2 separate regions of the Homo sapiens genome follow, and region 2 is linked to region 1. The links are contacts of gene promoters, found by promoter capture Hi-C in blood cells and fetal thymus (Javierre and others, 2016). All regions are on one chromosome and are shown on one strand. Each heading gives the region's core, a stretch centred on a gene start or on the middle of the fragment in contact. The rest is flanking DNA. Distances are from core to core; before and after follow the strand shown. Region 1 holds the start of BARHL2 (BarH like homeobox 2). Region 2 has its middle 170 kb from the start of HFM1.

Region 1 (4,293 bases), core at 1,238-3,737:
TCCTCCTGGCATACACTTCCACATTCCCAAGCCAACTACTGGCTTCGGGGGACTGCACTCTGCCACCCCTAGAACACACACACACTCACGCCTTAGCCTGAGTGTGGAGGAAGAGGATTGTTTTCAGACTGGAGAGTATGGGACCTTGTTTAGAGTTTCTAAAGGGGGTCTAAAAGGGTGTCTGATCTTCACATGGTTGGAAGTTAAAAAGTAAAAATTTTTTTAAATAAAACTTTTGAAAAGGGTTATTTTGTTATTGTTTCCTTGACTGAGAGAGATGCTGTCCCTTTTCTTTATTGTTTTCAGTATGACTTTGTTTCACTGATGTGGTGATTTTTCAAAGGGTCCCTCTACTCTTTTTTTTTTTTTTTTTTTTTTGAGGAGGCAGCATCTTTTTCATTTTACTTTTTTCTCTTTTCTGAAAGTTATAGGTGTTTGTTTTACTTTTTCAGATGCACTTGGGAAATGTTGGAATCAAGCTTTCTGAAGCCACCTGCATCAGGTCTTTTAAAGCTTCACAAAGAATATGTCACCCAGACACCGAGTTGAGCTCAAAATCACTGAGCCCATCCAGGTGACAGCATGGAGATTTCCGGATTCTATTTGTCAACTTTGGTTTTTTACTGAAATGCTGGGAAATCGATATGTCAATCCCTCCCTGTTTGTACCCGTTTGTGCAGTGCTCCTTGATCTTCCCTGCAGGAAGAACAATAATCTCTCTAATTGACCCACTGGGGAGGTTGGTGCACAAAAAATCGCCAGACCAGACTGTACATCTGTTTTGGACACTATTATGCTAATGCTATAATAGTAAAATGAGGAGCCAACATCCTACCTTCCAGTCAGTACATTTCTTTACCAGAAAAACAAGGATCAATAATAATAAACAATGTGTCTGTAAAGGAAGAAAAAGCTCTCCTGGTATGTTAAAACTTTTGCCATGCAAAGACTACCACATTTACTTATGAAATTGTCTGATGAGAAAATGGAAAAAGGGAGTTGAAGGACAATTTCCATTGTCATCTTATTTTTTTTTTAACAAAAAAGAGATTAATCCAATTTCATAAGATTTTATTTTTATAAATACTACCTCCTAAGTACTTGTAAGGGGCCAAAAATCTTTGTAGGATACAGATACTCAGTTGAGGCCATAGGGTAAGAAGGGTGCTTTTAAGAAACTTATTACAAATTTTTACGGGCTAACCACAATCTAATTTTTTTAAAGTTGCTCTGTTCATGAACTCAGAAATTTTTCCTCCATTAAAACCGATAATTCCTGTGATGATGTTAAGAAAATAAAGTGGGGGGGGGGTGAAATCACTTGTACTAAAGAATAAACACCAGGTTGTGATCACACCCACGCTAGCTAAGTGGTTTCTCTCTCCTACCTCCCCCCATTCCCATTCCCAAAGTCTAGGCTAGAAAAACCCCAAGTCCATCCCTTTTATCAACGAAAAGTATTTCCTGTCGGATGCCCTCCGCCGCCCCTCAACCCCCAGTAGATTAAAATTAAATAAAACAAAGGAAGGAGCTGGATGGCCGTGAAGGTTGTGGGGTAGAACAATAAACAGAACTTCGAGGAGTCCCCACATCGCACGCCCAGGCCTCCCTTCAGCTGCAGTCTTTTGACCGTCGCCCAGTCGCCCGAGAAGCTCCTGGAATCGCTCCCCAGCAGAGATCTGCTGAAGGCTGAAGGGGAGATTGGGAACCAGGAGGACAAGCTAGACGGCCGAGAGCGCCGGGTGGCGGGACTCACCGTGGCATTTGATGTCGCTCTGGGAATCCTCCCGCTTGTCGAGTTTGGTCTTGCTGTCCTCCTGCTCGAGCTTTGGCCTGAAGCTCTCGTGCACTGCGTTGCTCTCCTGCTTCGGGGTGTGGTGGGGAGAGGATACGCTGGTGCTGTAGGGTGCACATGCCGCCAGAGGTTTGCTGTCGCCCAAGATGTCCTTAATTAAAAAAGAAGACGTGGAAGTCCTGGGGGCCGAGGCGGCCGAGCCCAGCTGCTGGGGGGGCGGCGGCGGCGGCTGCTGTGGCGGCAGCGGCTGCTGCTGTTGGGGCAAAGGCTGCAAACTTTGCGTCGGGGCCGCGGCCGGCGGCGGCGGCTGCTGGCTGTGGTGGAGGTGGTGATGATGCTGGGTCGCGTCTGCTACCAGATGCGGCTCCGGGGGCTCCATGGTGACTGAGATAGGAGAAGAAGGCGCCGTCCCTACGGTATCAATCTCCGAACAGGGAGATGGGGTGGCCTGACTCCTAAAATCCGCGGTCCTGGCCTCACCGAGCGGGCGGAAATCTCCATTCATCATGCCTGGGCTGCCTGAACTGGCACTGGACAAAATCGTGTCTATTCCAAAACTCGACCCGCTGGCCCCTTCCATTGTCATTGCTACATGAGGTCCACGCCACTCCGCCGTTCAGCAGCCGCCCCGAACCAGCGAAGAAAGCTATCGATCGTAAAACAAAATAAACACCAAACAATGTTGCCGCCGCTTAAAAAAAAAAAAGTGGGGCGGGGAGAGAAGGAAGGGTAATTGGGAAGTGGCAATCTGTGGATACTTTCGACACAACTTTTTTTCTTTTATGCAAAAAGTAGGGGTGGAAAGAAAAAAGATGCGGGGGGCGGGGGGAGTTAAAAAAATTTCTGAGAAAACTCGGAACTTGCGCTCCAGGAACGACTGCGCACGTGGCGCGGCGGTGGCGGCGCGGAGGACCCAGGCGAAGGCGAAGGCGAAGGCGAAGGCGCAGGCGAAGGCGAAGGCGCAGGCGGCGGGAAGCTACGCCAAAGCCGCCGCCGCCGCCGCTGCCGGGGTCTGCCCACAGCCTGGCACCGGGCGGCAGCGGTGGCGGCGGCGGACGCGGCAGGTGCAGCGACCGCGAAGCCCGGGCGGCCGCGCGCCCTCGGAACTCCCCCGCGGCTCCCGAGGTGGCAGCCGCGCGCCACTCGGCAGCCCCGTAGCCGAGTTTCTGAACTTTCTTGGAAAGTTGCGGGGCAGACACGGCCGCAGCGGTTGCGGCAACCCGAGGAGGAGGAGGAAGAGGAGGACGACGAGAAGGAGCAGGCACAGAAGGAGGAAGCGGCGGAGACGCGATGCCGGGCGACTCCGGCCGCTGCCGGGCGCGTTCGCTTGTAATCCGGCTGCTGGCGGGCGGCGCCGACCCCCTCCCGTGACGTCACGGCCACTACCGCCGCTCCCCGCGCCGCGCCGCGCCGGGCCCGCGCCCCCGCCACCGAGGCCGCGCGTCCGGCCCCGCGCCCCTATTGGCCGCGCCCGCGCGAGCGAGGGACGCCGACGTGCCAGGGAGCCAATAGGCGCAGCGCTCGTGAGCCCGTCAGCGGACTCGGCTCGGACTCCGCTGCTCTTTTGAGAACCCGCACATCCCTGAGCCCGCAGCCCTGAGCCGAACTCCGAGTCCAGTGGTCCCGGTGTCCACAATCACGAGTGCGAGGCAAAGGGAGAGGGAGGAAGAGATCAGAGGGAGACCAGAGAAAGGGAACCAAAGGGGAGAAAGAAAAAAAAAAGTAGCAAGGATTCGCCCGTTTTCTTAAGTCAGAAGAGAGAGAGAAGAGGACGGGAAGGGACTTACCTTTAGGCTCCAGCGCGGCGGCCCTCGCAGCCTCCCCAAACGCGCGCGGGAATAGTCCGAAGACATTAAGAGCGGAGGAAGGAGATCCCTGAAGGAATCCACAGAAAAGTGTGTCACTTCAGGCGCCGGAGCCTTGCATAAGCGGGCGGGTCGGCTCTGGGCTCTGATTTCTCGCCCGACGAACCCAGGCGCTCGGGCTCAGCCCGGCGGGAGGCGGATCCCTGAGAGGGACACAGCCGGGTCCGCGTCCACCAGGCGCTCTCGGGGAGGACGAGGCCTGAGGCTCCAAGCTGGGGAACCAGCCTGGTCTCCAGCTGGAAAAAATGCCTGGCCAGACGCTTTCTCCCGAACGGGGGAGCTAATGCCCGAGGCGTTCTCTGGTGGCGAGGGCAGCCACGGTTCACTGCGGTGTCGGGCGGGCGCGGGGCTCAGGACCCATAGCGGCTGGTCTGCAGCCCGCGCCCCTGCCGCGCCCCGCGGCAGTCCGTCCACCTCTGTCCCCCGGCCCCTTTCGGCGAGCGCTCATTTGGAAAGGAAACAGTCACTGCGGATCCACTTGGGACCCGGAGCATGACTGTAACGCCTCGTTGGAGTGTATCAACTTGCATTATTTTCTCTAGGACGTCTCCAACCTGTCTCATGTTGAATGTCAGAGTAATGGGAAGTGCCAGTGACAAGACGGCGTATTACTCCTGATTAAGTGCCGTGTCA
Region 2 (4,293 bases), core at 1,007-3,506, 520 kb after region 1:
AAAAAAATCCTCACTGAGACTGTCTCCCTTTCCCCCTTTGACATGGGACAGGACTATCTGGAAATGAGCCTTCCCAGTGACAAGGGACACTTTGACAGTCAGATTTTGATCATAAGTGCTTTCAAGAAGAAAGATTTTCATCAAAAGGGGGGAAATAAAAAGAAAAAAACCCTTTTATCTGAGGAATATGAGCCCCTTTACATTATCAGGCCCAGAAAGGCATTTAAAATGTAACACCAGTCCTGTCTCACTCCCCCTTGAGCTAAATAATTATGTCTTGAAGACACTTGTTATGTGGGCCCTAGATCATCTTGATGTCAAATAGCTATAAAATAACATACAGCTATAATTTATCAATGTATAATCAATCACCGCTCAATGTTATTTTTGTAAACCAATGACAATTACTGACAAATAACTTTTTGTAATCACCCCTTCTCCTGATTTGTTCTTTTTTTTTTCTTTGAAACCTTGAACCACTCTTTTGTTCTCCAGAGTATGTCCCAAGGAACTTGGAAGTGTGTCCCAGGATGTATCTCTCAACCTTTGTGTTTGAATAAATCCTCTTTAAACTGTATTCTGACCTTTTTTTTATTATTTTAGGTTGACATGGCCTTGCTCTTGAGTAAAACTTTTAAAGAATACAAGCTTCTAAGACATGTACCCCATCCTCTGCTTATACAGTTTGATGCTGGAACGAAGTAAAAGACTAGACTTTTTTGTGGACAAACTTCATAGTGTTAGACTTGATCTATTGTTTCAGCCATTTCAGAATATTTTGAATTTGAATTTTGTCTCAATAATTTCATTGATCAGCATGCTACAGATGTCAGCATAACAGTCACTGGTGAAACTGCTGAAAAATTTAGGGCTGAGGGACCACCCTCTAAGTTATTCCTCCTAATAAATTTTTTCTTGATTTGGAATATTTCTTAACTAGCACCATTTGGGTTATTCAGCAAGTTAAAAATCCCTCTCTGTGTGACAAGCAGCCCACAGTTCTTTCACAAGACTCTTTCATGAGATTCTTGGTCATGCTGAAATCTGAATACTCTCTGTACATAAAATTCTATTGATTTCCATTAAGTAGCCCTTTAGAAAAAGGAAAATTTACTTACATTGGTATGGCCTCTTCTTACTGAACTCATACTATTCCTAGCATCATTACTTACTTTGTAAACTAAAAAAACTATCTTTAAAATTATTAGTTCTAGTCTTACTGACTATTCACGATATTTATTCTTTTGGCACCATTTTTAAAAGATTACTGATGTCATTGCAGCTAGTCAATGAAAATACCAAATGATAAAATGAGTAGCTAGCATGTATTTATTATGTCCCAGATGCTATGTTAAACTGCTTTAGCTGAATTATCACCCTAGCCCTACGAGGTATTTACAACTGAAATTTATTGCTGTTAAACCATTTGCCAGGAGAACACAGTCGATTTATCTGATTCCAAAACCTGTTTCCTCAATCAATATGATGTTACCATGCCTTGGGATACAGTGATTTAGATGTGGAATCTTAAACAAGTTGGGCCTCCAATTCCTTATTATTTCTACCCTTTCCACTCAACTCTGATGGGCCATTTCTTTCCCCAAGGGGGAAAAAAGGTAGTAAAATAGGAGTACAGAAGTTCTACTTCCTCATTGTTGCTATAAGTTAACCTACCATCATTATTTTCAAGGTGGGGCCTTCCTCTCCCCAGAACTCTTTCTGATCTGAATTTAATGTTTTCTTTAGCATTTTTTTAAAGAGATAGTCTCATTCTGTTGCCTAAGCTGGAGTGCAGTGGCTCAATTGTAGCTCACTGCAGCTTTGACCTCCTAGGCTTAGGTAATCCTCCCACCTAAGCCTCCCAAGCAGCTAGGACCATAGGTACCTACCACCATGCCTGACTAATTTTTAATTTTTTTGTTTGTTTGTTTGTTTTTTGTAGAGATATCGTCTTGTTATGTTGCCCAGGCTGATCTCAAACTCCTGCCTCAAACAGTCTTTCCATCTTGGCTTCCCAAAGCTCCTGGGATTACTGGCATGAACCACCATGCCCAGCCATTCTTTAGCATGTTTATCTTGTTCTGAGCATTAGTCTTCATTCCCAGTGTGTTTTGCTGAGTTACTCCAATACCTTGGGTATGTTGTCATCCTGTCTACTTTTTATCCATGCTTATCAGAAAGCTTGTTGTTTATCCTAATTTGTCTCAATGAATTCCTTCAGCTTTTCTTCCTCAGTGGGACGATTGCAATGATTGGAATCAAAATGTGCAAAATATTCATTTTCATTGTCTGCCTTACTTCTAATGAAGTCACCATCATGGCATCAGTTATCAAGCTTTTCCATTGAGCCAATAAGAACTAGTGCACTTCAGAAAAAGCCAAGCTTGTCCTGCATTGTCTAGCCATTCTCTGCTACCTGCATTTGGCAGTAGGACTTTGCTTGGTGATAATGTGTTTCCTCTAGTAAACTCCTCCTGCATTCTCAGGAATTTTCCTGGGTAGGCAGCACACTTAGAAACTCAAGAAAATGAACCTGCCATGACTACGTCACATAGAAAACTTTCCAAGTTGTTATGGTTCTGATGTGGAGAAGGGAAAGGACATACAATAGTGGTAAACAACTCAAGTATAGAGTGAGTCAGATGTACAGTGAGTCCACCATAGGTAACGGTGCAAATAGTGCCATTTCTTAAGTTTTAATTTCCTCAAATGAAAACTGGTATAAGTGTGGGACAATGGGATAATGCATATGTTCCTTACTGTAATTCAAGTGCTCCTTAGCACAGTAGATGTTAATATTATTCAACTCCTTAGACCCATGTGAAATTTTGATCAGCTGCCCAACGTCATATCCACAGCTTGTGACTCTTGGTGAAGACACTTACCCACCTTCTAAAGGCTTTGTGAACTTTCTCCTCATCCTCCAAGTGGTTCACTCTTGTTTACTTTTGAGCACAAAACAGAAGCCAAGTGATTAAAAGACATTGTTTATAGTTGTAAATATCTTTTGAGACAGTGTCTTTGGGTTTTAAAACCTGGGAGAGAGGAATTAACTCACGAAAGGACTGGTTTCTTCCCACACTTACAAACTTCCACTAGCACTCCATTTTTAAAAAAGCCTGAAACTATATGGGAACAAAGAAGTGAAGTGAGCTTGTGCTGCAAATAAAAAGGCAAAGCCAGATCTTCTGCTGTAGGGTCTCCCTGGGTTGTGGTCATAGTTCTGTTTGGGATTATCACACAGTTTGGGAAAGTCAGTTCAATCCAATGAAAATGATATGAATATAGCTCTGTGCCATGAATCCAAAAACATTGTATTAGTTTCTGTTACTGCTGTAACAAGTTAATTACCACAAATTTAGCAGCTTTAAACAGCACGCATTGATTACAACACAAATTTATGTTCTGGTGGCCAGAAGTCCAAAAATCAGTGTCCCTGAGTGAAAAATGAAGGCTGTTGCTTGATTTCAAAATCCAGAACTGCATTCTTTCTGTAATTTGTGGCCCTTCTTCCATTTTCAAGGCCAGCAATGTAGCATCTTCAATTCTAGCTCCTTCTCTCATTCTCTCTCTGACCTCTGCTCCATGGTCACGTCTCCTTCTCCGACTCTGACTCTCCTGCCTCCCTCCTTCACTTATAAGGACCCTTGTGATTACATTGAGCCCGTCCAGATAACCAGGATAATCTCATCTCAAGATACTTAATTTCACATGTGCAAAGTCCCTTTTGCCATTGTAAGGTACCATATTTATGAAATTTCTGGGATTAGAATGTGGACATCTTCAGGAGCCATTATTTTGTCTACCACAGGTGTGGATTATATGTTCTTTCCATAGTCATAGGGCACAGATATTATCAGACCCAGTTTATATTTTGCAGTCAAGACTTCTAATGGGACAAGTTGGCATTCAGAGAAGCTGAAGTTAATAAAATAAAAAGCAGGTATCAGCATGCACTTTATCACATCACCAAGAGAATCAAAACAGTATGATAGTAAATTTGACTTCTTGTCGTGTTGAATTCTTCTTTCAGTGTTATGTTATCAGAAAGAGGCAGTACTGTTATAATGTAATTTATATAGTGCCTTCCCCTGAGTGATGAACAGAATATTCCTTAGTATCCTCAGAGAATTAGTCTCTCTATCTCTTTTTATCCCCGCTCAGGCACTCCAGCAATATAATATCCAGCAATATAATATCTGTGTGCAAGAAATAAACCAGAGTCACTAAATTTAAGGATGTTCACTTAAAGAAATTCCTTTTGGAGTTTCTTTTTTTTAAATGTCATTTGAA

The links. The method cuts DNA at HindIII sites, captures the fragments that hold promoters and counts their contacts. A CHiCAGO score of 5 or more calls a contact.
Region 2: a contact is called between a fragment that was not itself captured here and the fragment with the promoter of BARHL2 in region 1, in 1 of 17 cell types (non-activated CD4 T cells). The highest score is 5.1, in non-activated CD4 T cells.

The regions. Positions count from the first base shown.
Region 1 is chr1:90,714,815-90,719,107 of GRCh38, forward strand. It overlaps BARHL2 (BarH like homeobox 2), which reads right to left and starts at 2,488. Exons shown (of 3, transcript NM_020063.2): 1 at 1,757-2,488. The coding sequence starts at 2,381. The HindIII fragment of the contact is 6,796 bases long and covers 512-4,293 here.
Region 2 is chr1:91,232,155-91,236,447 of GRCh38, forward strand. No RefSeq gene overlaps it. Among named protein-coding and RNA genes, the nearest start is that of HFM1, 170 kb to the right of the region's middle. The HindIII fragment of the contact is 154 bases long and covers 2,180-2,333 here.